Linked DNA regions of Homo sapiens: all the other regions are linked to region 3. The links are contacts of gene promoters, found by promoter capture Hi-C in blood cells and fetal thymus (Javierre and others, 2016). All regions are on one chromosome and are shown on one strand. The core of a region is centred on a gene start or on the middle of the fragment in contact, and the rest is flanking DNA. Distances in the headings are between cores, read along the strand shown.

Region 1 (3,016 bases), core at 219-2,718, 1.9 Mb before region 3:
GGATTATGAATATGTTACAAACATTGGGGAAGGCCCATTGTAGGCGGAAAAGGGAGAGAAACCAAGGGGTTATCTTGGGGCACGTACTAAGGTCTGACGCTGGCCAATGACAGCGTTGGTAACAGCCCGGAGTTCCGGATTAGTGGAAGAAAACTGGTTTCTGGTTGGTCCTGGCCTGAAATACGGGAACTAAGGCCAGGCTTGGTCTTTTTTGGGGGGGGCGGGGGGGCAGGGGGGAGGCGTGGGAGGAAGGGGCTCTGGAGGGGAATTGACGGACCAGGGATTAGGAAAAACGACATAATTAAAAATAATAAGGAGCGTCAAGCCAATTTCAAATTTTGCCGGTTAGGTAATGGTCTACTGAGTAAAAGCATAATCGTTACGTATCTCCGATTTTATAAGCTCATTCAATTATCAGTTAAGTCGCATTTGCATAGACCCGTTTTCACTAAATAGAAACTGAGTTATCACTTTTTGAGAATTGGTGAAACACGATTTTGGGTTTACAAGGAGACAACAATGGACATATTTAAAAATGGAATATACTTTAGTGAAGGACCAAAGGCATTGGTCTATGTTGTTTCTCCTGCAAATATAATTCATAGTATAAATGTACCTTGTGTTCAGCATTGACACACAAAAACAGGTGATCCTTTTTATTTTGCGGGGGAGGTTCCCTTGTGTTAGCTGCTGCCACAGTGCATTGGAGGGTAGTGAAAGGAGAAAGGAATGATGTTACTAAAATCTAAATTCAGCTATCTTTCCTTCAAGTAAGATCCAAGTGGAGGAAAATCGGACAAAGTTAAAGAAAGTTGGCGGTGTATGATAGACTCTAAATATAAATGATTTAAAATTTGCTTGCAATAAGACTATATTTAAATTGCTTCAATGTTCATTTTGTTATTTTTGTTTGTGTTATCTTACAACAGTGAGGCCACATTATTATTATCAAGTCTACCGACTGTATAGTTTTCTTATATTTTGCAAATCACAGAAAATGGTATAATTGTGATAAGGGTAAACTCGACCATCTGTATTATTAATAGTAACAATTTCTCAGATGGAGAAAAATTAGTTTTGAAAAACTTCATGTACTGCCAGGTTAATTTGTAGTCAGTCTTTCTGTTGGACTTAAGTCTTTCCCTCCCCCTAAAAGAGGCAAAAACAACAGTGCCTACTAATATGTTTTAACACTTAATGACTGATACAGGTTTTTATATATAGTTTTAATACTGAGGTGTATTGAAAATGTTTTCCTTTACATTTGTCCTTCTCACAGCCTATATGTGTTATTTTAAGCAAGTGGCAAAGGAGATTAAAAGGAAAAAGCTTTTTTGAAACTAACTTGACAGTGATAAAAAGGAAATGAAAATCAAAGTAATTAAAAAATAGTCTCCTCACCAAAAAAACCCCAACAACCCAGTTTACTAGACTTTTCCTCATATTGTAAAGACATTTTTACATAATTGTGATCAGTGTCCATTTTATGCTTCATATTTTTCTTAACATTTAAAAATGTACTTGTGTATTTGAATAGTCATCATTATTTTAATGGTAAGAAAAAATTCAGTTGTATTTAAGGTACGATATGATTTGAACCAAGCTTCCAGTTGAGCATTTGAGCTACTTCCAGATTTTTACTAATAACTTTGCATAGTTAGGTGGTCTTTTTCTGCTTTTTACTTTCTCCCCTATCCCTTCTGCCCCCAGTTATTTTCCTGGACTTTATTCCCTAAAGTGGAGTTACCAGGTCAAAGGGTCTCATGAGTTTTATAGCTCTTGTCATATATTGTTTGCTCTCCAGAAGATTGTACTAATTTATAATGTCATCATCTAGGTATTTAGAGTGAGTTTTTTAATAGCTTTAAATCATTCAGTTTCTTTAATATTTAATAGATGGCAATAGCTCCTGGTTGACTTAAGTAGCTCTTTTTTTTTCATTACTAGTGAGGCTTAACCTTTAAGGAATTAAATAAAATTGTTAATTCTTACATATACTCAATTTTAACGTATCTTTTAAATATTCTTTTCTGTTTTTATATTTTCTATTTTTTTTACGTACACAGAGTTTGTTCTGTTGTTTGAACATTATAGTTTAGATACCATGGTTTTCTTTTACATGTCTGTTCTCTACCTATGGACTTCTTTGTAAGAGAAGATGGGCAGGGTTGAGTGATAATTTGAACAGAAGTGTAGTGGCTGAGAAGTGAATGTGCAGTGTTGGTTTGATTGCTAAGTTTGTCAGTAATATTTTTGATTAAAATTATTTCACATATGACCTGATTTTGAGTGGCTGCATTGTAGAAGAGATGGGATACTTTTTCTTGGGGTAGGTGTTTTTGTTTTTTTCTTTTTTTTGAGAGGGAGTCTCGCTCTATTGCCAGGCTGGAGTGCAGTGGCGGGATCTCGGCTCACTGCAACCTCCGCCTCCCAGGTTCAAGCGATTCTCCTGCTTCAGCCTCCCAAGTAGCTGGGACTACAGGCACGCGCCACCACGCCCAGCTAATTTTTGTATTTTTTAGTAGAGACGGGGTTTCGCCATGTTGGCCAGGATGGTCTCGATTTCTTGACCTCGTGATTCGTAAACCTCAGCCTCCCAAAGTGCTGGGATTACAGGCATGAGCCACCGCGCCCGGCCTGGGGTAGGTATTTTTTAAATTGTTATTGGAATGATAGATTTATAAAGTGTGGTCTTTGATTTAGCTGCATGTTTTGGATTGAAATTTAGGGCAAAGTATTAATAGTATCATCTTGATTTACCTGGAATATTACATTATATAGCAGCATTACAAACTTAAGGTGTATTGGGGTATGAAAAGGAAAGAGTACAAATGTACAATGAAGTGTTAACTAGGATATCAACATAGTAAATAGGGGTTGCATGGCCACGTATACTGCATATATGAGACAAAAATCCTGCCTTTTTGTTCATATGTATACTTTCATTTGAACTGATTGTCATTAATGCTTAATTTATCAGAATAATATTAAGGTAATGATAAATTGAATTTCTTCA
Region 2 (2,834 bases), core at 317-2,816, 1.0 Mb after region 3:
CATAACACCTCCTGTTTCTAATATATAACGTTAGTGAGATTTTTTAAATGTTTAGGTAATCGTGTATCTTTCTTTCCTACTACATTGAGATCCTCAAGTACAAAAAAAACTCTCTCATGTCATGACCTTAGACACCAGAAAATGTTAAATATAATAAAATGCCAGTTCAAAAATAACCATTGAAAAGGATGTGATAAGCAACCTAGTAATTCAGTCAGTGGGGCTGCTAGAAACCGTTGTCTTCATAGCTGAATTCAACTGACTCAATTCGGACTCAATTGTATGTAAACTGTTTATTTTTCTTTCTTCTTTTTTGGAGACAGTTTCGCTCTTGTAGCCCAGGCTGGAGTGCAGTGGCACGATCTCGGCTCACTGCAACATCCGCCTCCCAGGTTCAAGCGATCCTCTTGCCTCAGTCTCCCGACTAGCTGGGATTACAGGCGCCCGCCACCACGCCCAGCTAATTTTTGTATTTTTAGTAAAGACAGGGTTTCGCCATGATGGCCAGGCTGGTCTCGATCTCCTGACCTCAGGTGATCCACCCTCCTCGGCCTCCCAAAGTGTTGGTATTACAGGTGTGTCAGACACTGCGCCCAGCCTACTGTAAGTAAACTCTTTTGAGGCCAGGAACTCTGTCTTATTTCTTGTGCATCACCCCCTCCCCACCACCCCCCCGCACCCGGCAAAAAAAAAAAAAAATTAATAACCTCAGTATCATCTAATTCAATGTTCTGCACATATTCTCAATACAAAGCCATACTATTGTAGATAAAGAGTCTGTGATTAAAATAAAGATCAGATCCTGGACAAACGCTGAATTGTGAAACGATAAGTGTTTGTGCTTAAGATAATCTCAACGTCTACAACGAAGAAAAGTGTCAAAGATAAGATGCCACAGGGTCGGACAATGGACAGTAACTTTACTGGAAAGGGGGCACAATGAACAAAACTAAGTGGAAACAAGAGTTCTCTCAGTTTACCTTACGCTCCCAGAGCAAGACAAGAAGCCAAATATCTATTTTTCAATTATTATTTCATCAATTATGGTCATTTTAGTAACCTTAGCTTCCAAAGTATAAAGAGGTGTCACTAAGCAAAGACCCCAGTCCATGTGACTTTCAATGCCAAACACAAACTTTCTTGTACCCTCAATTAATTGGGTAACGTAGGCCATGGATGATCAGGACATTCTCTCCAAGAGGGTACAAGAAAGTGACACAGGTCAGGATTTAATTTCCCCTCCTCTATCCCCTGTTAGGGGAGGTAAAACATAAATGTAGTTAATACCTGAATTGTGAATAAGTGAAACTTTCGAGACTGCCCCAGACTAACATGACCTTCTCACCACACTCGTAGTACAAACTGACAGCACAGAAGACCCCCTCCAGGAGAAAGGACGACGGGAAGCCAATGTAGGACTTACCTGGTTTCTCTATCCTATGGTTAAACCTCTGGAGCTACGCAGACCGTGGCAGCGATAAATCCACGTACGCAGGCTCCAACAAAGCTCACACAATCGGAGAAGTCACAGTAGCTGCGGCTGCGGCGGCGGCAGCAACAACTCCTCCCTCTGCTTCTCTTTTCCCACCCCCCGCCGCGGCGGCCAGCCGCCTTTACCCCTCCCTCCCTCGACTACCCCCACTTCCGGGTGATGCCCCTGCCGGAAGCAGGGCCGCCACGGGAAAGAGAGCGACTGGTCACGTGAAAAGGAACGCGTGGTCTAGAGCCAGCTTCTCCTGCCCCCTGCTGCCCCCGGGCCGACACGCAGCCTCGAGTGGGTCTTTGTTAGGGTACGAGTCCACTATCCCACCCCGCCCCCACGACAAAAGCGAAACCAGAAAACCCATACTAAAACAGTGCCTTTGTCATCTTTAGTTTCCTAACCTCAGGCCAAGATGTAACATAAAAGATCCTTATAAGTCATCTTCCACATAGTTCATCTTTGCCTAGCATGAAATTCACGTGCATCTGTTAGACTGTGTTAACTGCCAAGATGTAACATAAAAGCTCCTTATAAGTCATCTTCCACATAGTTCATCTTCGCCCAGCATGAAATTCACGTGCATCAGTTAGACTGTGTTAACTGCCAAGATGTAACATAAAAGCTCCTTATAAGTCATCTTCCACATAGTTCATCTTCGCCCAGCATGAAATTCACGTGCATCTGTTAGACTGTGTTAACTTGCTTCCCGTAGACTGTGTAGCCTAATTCCAGATGTAAGTGCCAGAACTATGAATTTATCCTCTTCCCTCCATTGAAAAATTACATCAAGAGGAAAATGTTTATAAATTCATAATTTTTATATGTGTGTTGAGGGGGTAGGGACGTCACTTCACCACCTTCATAGCGCCATTCCAAGCTCTGAACCACTCCCCCATTTATTCATTCACTCGTCCATCATTTTACACACCTAGAAGATTCCGGTGATGCAAAAGTGTTACAGTCTCTGTTACCATGAGTTCATTTAGAAATGAGATGCATAAAATGTAAACAATGCAATAAATGGTACAGAAAACATTTGAAAAAAGGGTCATTTTATTCTTGCTTTCCAACTTAACATTTTGAAAAGCAGCAAAATTCTAGGATTTTTAAAACTATGAACATTAACAGTAAAAAGAGGGAGAGGCTCCATCTCACTTATTTCAAAGCAAGATGTGGCCTTTTCATATTTCCTTTCATGAAGTATCTGTCATAAGATGTAGAACAAAACTAATCACAGGACTATTTGTATTTTCATCTGGAACCATTTGAACCCAGTTCCCACAGAAGAGTATGAAGCCTAATAATGTTGCAGAAATCAAAATAGTACACAAAATACAAATATCAAGTAAAT
Region 3 (3,158 bases), core at 49-2,548:
CTCAGTATATCTGCATATCACCTACTTTCATAAGTGGTTAATTTTACTGTGCTGCAATTGCTAAGAGATAGATTCTCCAATTAATATACATCATAATGACTCCACACATCCATTTGAACAACTGAAATAAAAATATTCTCACTTGCAGGATTCTTGGAACTGAGCCTACTCCCCTGGAAAGCACAGCCAAATCTGGTATCATTCTATCCAGCCTTATCCTGGTTCCAAATGATTTGGCACAGTCTCCCTTCAGGGACTCCTTAGCTGAAAGTCTCCTTTTGATTTAGTCATCTTAGCTCAGAAGGAGAGAGGTGCTAGTATTCAGAGTAATAGCAATAATAACTGAAAAAATGAGTGCCTCACTCATGGGCTTTGCTATCCAGTAAGGCTGAACTTCGGTCAAAATTAGCTTTCAAAGGATCAAGGAACCACTCTGACCAGACTCTGAAGTCATCTGGGATACTTTCTCCTTTCCTATCCTAAAAAATGGCAGGGTCACAAATAAATTTACAGTATTCTCTGGGAGATGCAAACTGCTGTAGGAAAAGGCAAACATGAGTTTAAAGACACAGGTCCTAGATCCACCTATACCACTAACAAGCTGAGTGAACCTAAGTGTCTTCACTTCACTGGCTCTCAGTTTTCCTGACTGTATTGTGAGGGATTTGGATCTCTATGGGCCCTTTCAGCCCCCAGAATCTATTACCCTGCTTTCTACTATTTGTCTCAGTATCTCTGAAAGCTAAATTTTCCAAAGCAAGGATTTTATACCCAAAAATCTTCCTTCACGATGCAGCTAGATAAATTATACACCATAAAAAATTAAATTGACTTTTATTGGCCGAATATGTCAAGTTGTCCCAATGAGTCTCACTGAATATACTCTTCTTACCACTTTGTGCCATCTTCTCTGGTCCCACTCTCTAAAGAGCCCTCATCAAAGAGTGAGCTGCATCACAGACTCCATGCTCCTGGCATAATGAAGAGGACTGATGGCATTAACGTTAACTTTGGACTCTGGTCAAACTCAACAGTAATTATCTTTGCTCCTGTTGTAAGATGTCTGAGATGAGAAACCAGTGACAATTTTAATACAGACACTGGCCCCACATCCACCTCTGTTCTGATTTTTATGATCACACCAATCTTCCCACATGAAACCACCAATCCCCAGGTGCTAGGCATTAACTTACCCTGGAGCTTAGCTGGGATAAGCACTCTTGTTTCTTTGCAGGGAGTAAAGGGTAGAAAGCTTTACTCTGGCGGCATGGATCCTGCTGATAACTGACACATTTGTTGTTGAAAGAGGAAGTTGAGTTTATCTGGTGTCTCACCACAGAAACCTTATTTGCACAAATGAAAGGTAAGTCCCTTGAGCAAATGACGTTACTCAAATTTTATTTCTTTTTATTTCATTGGTGCAGAGAAATTCAAATAGCAGGGAGTCAGAGGCTATGCATACTCACACAATGGCTATATAACAGCCTTCCTCACCCTATCTCCTTCCTTGACAACCGACATATCTAGATTTTCACTGATTCCAGTAGGTTCCATGGTAAGATGAAATTTTCAGGAAAATCTAAAGAGTGTTTACCTAGTAACAAGAAAGCTACAGCTTGTGCAAGCCTGAGGGGCAAAGGCTGAGGAAACCTAAAAAATACAAGTCAAAATTAGAAACAGTAGAAGTACCTTTGCTTAAGTTGTTCCCTCCATCTGGAGTGCCCCTCTCCCAACCCCTTCATCTTGAGGCTCACAATTTAACACATAGTTTCATTATTTTTGTATATTTATTATCCCTTTACTAGACTGCACACTGCTTGAGGGTAAAGATCATGTCTGATTCATATCTGTATTCCCAATTTGTCCAGCACAAGGCATTTTCATGAATTGTTATTGAATGAATACATATGGGAATTAATAAATAAACAAATGCTCAAAGAATGCATGAATAAGTAAATGAACATTATTGATTACGGGGTCTCCCTCCAGTGTACTAAAATTCTGGTTTTTATGTACAGTGTATATGGGGCCTTCAAAACTATGTGAATACAGGAAGATCATACACTTGAGGACTACAGTGTCAACTAAGTCTGAGAGTAGTTTTGAGAAACGAGGTTTAAAATGCAGCACAAACCCCTGTTGGCGTGTAAGGGAAAGAGAAGCTGACAGTATTGGAAACTAAGAGCTTGGGATGATTGATGGAAATGTCATAACTTGTGAAGACTGGCATCATCCTGGCTGATGTATGTCAAATGAAACAAGTTTAGCCTTTCAATCCCCTTCTTAATTTTGATTTCAAATGTTTATTCAGCTCCTATCTTTTGTTAATTTAGGTTTCTGAATTGGCATCCCTACTGAAAAGAGAATACACTGACAGACCAACACACATCTCAGTCCATTTGGCAGTTGTGTTCCTCCCTATGGTTAGTGTGAGCCAGTTTTCCTAGGGTAAGATTCTTCTCTGAACAAACAAAAAAATTCCAGACCTGTTGAGCTTTGAAGGCAAACCCTGGGATCCAGAAATACAAGAAATCCTTTTCTTACAACTGGCTATGATCACCACATCCCAACTTTATTTCACAGACAAAACCTTCACATTGCGAGAAGGAAACCTACCAGTTTACTTCATTTCTGTCTTGCACGCAAGCAGCTTCTTCTGTCACTGACCCTAAAAAGGGAAGAAAAATAAAACCAGAAGTCAGTGTCCCAATTCAAATGAAAAATTTTAACTCAGGTAAATTTTGAGTGTTAATTATTGATATGGTTTGGCTCTGTATCCCTTCCCAAATCTCATCTTGAATTGTACTCCCATAATTCCCACGTGTTGTGGGAGGGACTTGAAGGCAGTTCATTAGAATCATGGGGGCAGTTTCCTCCAGTTTCCTCCATACTATTCTCCTGGTAGTTAATAAGTCTCATGAAATCTGATGGTTTTATAAGGGGTTTCTGCTTTTGCATCTTTCTCATTTTCTCTTGCCACTGCCATGTAACAAGTGCCTTTTTCCTCCCACCATGATTCTGAGGCCTCCCCAGCCATATGGGACTGTTAAGTCCAATTAAACCTCTTTTTCTTCCCAGTCTCAGGTATGTCTTTATCAGCAGCATGAAAACAAACTAATACAATTATAATGAACAAATCTGTGGAGAAACAAAGCAAG
Region 4 (3,247 bases), core at 72-2,571, 1.2 Mb after region 3:
CTGGGCAACAGACAGACCTACCTCATCTATACCAATACATAAATACATAATTAGCTGGGCTTGATGGCACGCGCCTGCAGTCCCAGCTGCTTGAGAGGCTGAGGTGGGAGGATTGCTTGAGCCTAGGAGGTCGAGGCTGCAGTGAACTGCGTCACGCCACTGCACTCCAGCCTGGGTGACAGAGCTAGACCCTGTCTCAGAAAAAAAAAAAAAAAAAGTTGCCTGAGCCTATCAGATTTTCAAAGTGTTTCATTCAAAAAAGGCTCCCCTCTTGCTATCCCAGTAGAAAGCAGCAACCCTGTCACCTAACCCCGACAGGAGCTCTTGCATATTTCAAGAAAAATAAATAGAATGAACTAAAGCATGCATGGCAGAATAAATTTGGAAATAAATTTCGAAGCGATTAGATTTTAGAGGACTTGTTTGTGATTAGCAGAGATTACCAATGTAAAATCAAATTATAGATCATAAAAGCGGGAAAGGCATTTACAGATCATCCAGCCAAGCTTCCTCTGTAATGAGAAGGAAGCAGATCTAAATTGATTGGTTTGTGAGCTAAACATCACATCAAATTGGGGAAATGGCCCGTGTGTGTGTGTGTGTGTGTGTGTGTGTGTGTGTGTGTGTGTGTATTCTAAGAGACACTTTATTCAATATGGAAAGAATTTTATGCAGCGTTCAAGTTGGTCTTATGTCGTCTGCACACATATACATATATATAAGTATATTATACACATATACATTTCCAAGCATGTTGGTGTGCCAAATATTATGTATAAAACATCTAGGAAAGCAAATAACTTGATGATAGCCTAGCATATAGGAAAGAAAATACTTACATAGGATGGCCATACAGATTAGTGGTTAAGAGTGTCTGGTGAATCTCGGCTCCACTACTGTGGGACTTTGTGTCTTGGTTTCCTCATCTGGAAAATGTAGGTTTGTCTACCTCAGAGAGTGTAAAGATTAAATGAGATAACCCGGATAAAGGATTAGTGTAGTGCCGAGCATATAGTAAACTCTCAATAAATGTAGGTTGCTGTTATTACTTCGTTAATATGTCAAAGAAAAAAGAGGTTGGACCAAAAGAGCATTTTCAAAATAAAGTCAAACTATGTCACTAGCACTTTCAGGTCAATTGGGACTAAATTGGACCCCCTGCGAAAAGGTGGAGGGGATCAAATGACGTCGACCGCCTTAGCAACAGGCCCCCAAAGAAGGTGAATTTCCGTAGCCAATAAGACTCTGTGCTTTGGAGGAGGTAGCCAATGGCTGACGGAAAGAGAAAGAGGGAGGACGCGCCAATTCTCCTGCCTGAGCCTCGGCCCAACAAAATGGCGGCGGCAGCGGTGTCGCTTTGTTTCCGCGGCTCCTGCGGCGGTGGCAGTGGTAGCGGCCTTTGAGCTGTGGGGAGGTTCCAGCAGCAGCTACAGTGACGACTAAGACTCCAGTGCATTTCTATCGTAACCGGGCGCGGGGGAGCGCAGATCGGCGCCCAGCAATCACAGAAGCCGACAAGGCGTTCAAGCGAAAACATGACCGCTGAGCCCATGAGGTAAAACGCAACCCCGTCTCATGGGCCCCAGCGGTCTGGGCCCAGGCACCGTCTGAGTCGGGTGTTTGGGAAGGCGTTCGCTTGGTGGGTTAGGCCTGTGTGTTGCTTAGCCGAAAGAGGCATCGTTTTCTCTTTAGGTGAGAAGGGTTTCGGGGTATCGGCGCAAGGCTCCGACGGGGGTGGGGGTGGGGATGGGGTGGGGGGAGGTGGGGGGGGCGCGGCCTAGGGTATGGGGCGCTTCTTGCAATCTCCCCTAAACGGTGACGCTTGGTCGGGCTCCTCTGTTTATTCTTTGGTGCCTGTGGGATTGAGACCTCGAAGTCGGAGGCGGTCTTTGGTATCCCGGTCATTTTTGCTAATCTTTGGGCCTAGAAACTGCGTGGGGAAGAAGCGGGGGGAGGGTGAGAAGAGGGGGAGGGGTGGGCGGGCGCGAGGATGTGAGATCCCAGGACGACTTAGAGGCGTTTAGGTTGCTGGAGATGGGAAGCACCCGGGCCCTGCGGGATTTTTTTTCTGCAGCCCCAGGAGACAAGCCTTTTTTTGATTGGGTTGTGGTGCAGTTCCAGGTATTTAGGTATCTTTTCTACTCCATATCCTGAAGGATATCCTTGGGTTTATTTCTAGGCGAGGGGGGACTTAACACAGGGTTTTGCTTCCAGAGGACCCTAGTATACTACTTTTTGTGATGTCCAGCCTTAATGGGACCTCAAGTGTTTCCCCACTTTCTGGGCAAATTTCGAGGAGTAATTAGGCCCTATCTTTATTTACTTATTTATTCCATGAAGGATGAAGGGCAGGTTAACGTGGGCTGATGCGAAGTAAGATTTATTGCAAGGGAAAATGCCTGGCAGGCCTCCTCTTAACCAATCAAGCACGTTTATTAGGTTGAAGCTGTTTTTCTGTGTGCTTCTGATTTGCCTCTTGACGGGTCTGAAAATTTGGGTAGTCAATATGAAATGTATACACTTTTACCCAGGTGGCTGGCTGGCGTTTCAGTTTGACATTTGAATTTTCATCCCACAATGTGAATTAAGTAATTTTTTTACTCGGAGATGCATCCTTGGCGTCCAGTGGCAAAATAAAATTACAAGGAGCATGGGTCAGAATTGCATTTCAAGTTGGCGAAATGTGCCTTTGAGTAACTCTTAGATTGGCATATGTTTTTAGAGCAATTTAGCTAGAATGTAGAATTGGGCAATGAGCCTATGATACGTATGTCTGTATTTCTGCATGAACAAGCAGTAGATTATATTTTCTTTACCTTGGGGAAAGATATGCTTCAGTTCTTAGATTGTAGATCTCTAGTTGTGTACACGATTGTGGCCTTGGTTTCTGAATTTGTCAGTAGGCTCAAATACAACAAATCTTTATCTGTGGGGTATTAGGCACGTAAGTGGTACCCAGTATAACTTGTTGGCCTGTAATTACCAGGCACTCATGTTCATATGCATGGATGGTGTACCTTACAGTTAAATTATGACCTCTAGATTTTACTAAGTTTCACAAAGTCTACATTTGAAACTATAGTTTGAAGTCGGATCTTCTCAGTTTCTTTAGAATGAACAAATTACGTATATAGAATTTCTGAATAGAATAATTAATTTTACACAAGGGTCAGTTTTTCTTACTAGTCTTGGATTTTTGTAGATCTTGATGATAAGAGTAATAATCATAACTAAGTTGAGTGCTTAT

The links. Contacts are between HindIII fragments. The CHiCAGO score rates a contact against its expected background, and 5 or more counts as called.
Region 1: a fragment that was not itself captured here is called in contact with the fragment with the promoter of P2RY10 in region 3 in 1 of 17 cell types (total B cells); the score reaches 5.0 in total B cells.
Region 2: a contact is called between the fragment with the promoter of ATP7A here and the fragment with the promoter of P2RY10 in region 3, in 10 of 17 cell types (total B cells, total CD4 T cells, naive CD8 T cells and 7 more). The highest score is 33.8, in total B cells.
Region 4: the fragment with the promoter of ATRX here is called in contact with the fragment with the promoter of P2RY10 in region 3 in 5 of 17 cell types (total B cells, non-activated CD4 T cells, naive B cells and 2 more); the score reaches 8.3 in total B cells.

What each region holds. Positions count from the first base shown.
Region 1 is chrX:80,805,276-80,808,291 of GRCh38, reverse strand. The region is part of intron 4 of BRWD3 (bromodomain and WD repeat domain containing 3); the gene reads left to right. Among named protein-coding and RNA genes, the nearest start is that of BRWD3, 3.1 kb to the left of the region's middle. The HindIII fragment of the contact is 274 bases long and covers 1,332-1,605 here.
Region 2 is chrX:77,909,425-77,912,258 of GRCh38, reverse strand. It overlaps ATP7A (ATPase copper transporting alpha), which reads right to left and starts at 1,566. Exons shown (of 23, transcript NM_000052.7): 1 at 1,424-1,566. The HindIII fragment of the contact is 7,135 bases long and covers 1-2,834 here.
Region 3 is chrX:78,943,531-78,946,688 of GRCh38, reverse strand. It overlaps P2RY10 (P2Y receptor family member 10), which reads right to left and starts at 1,298. Exons shown (of 4, transcript NM_014499.4): 1 at 1,194-1,298. The HindIII fragment of the contact is 3,107 bases long and covers 1,255-3,158 here.
Region 4 is chrX:77,784,290-77,787,536 of GRCh38, reverse strand. ATRX (ATRX chromatin remodeler) reads left to right here and starts at 1,321. Exons shown (of 35, transcript NM_000489.6): 1 at 1,321-1,555. The coding sequence starts at 1,536. RefSeq lists enhancers at 1,248-1,437, 1,448-1,557 and a silencer at 1,658-1,707. The HindIII fragment of the contact is 7,766 bases long and covers 509-3,247 here.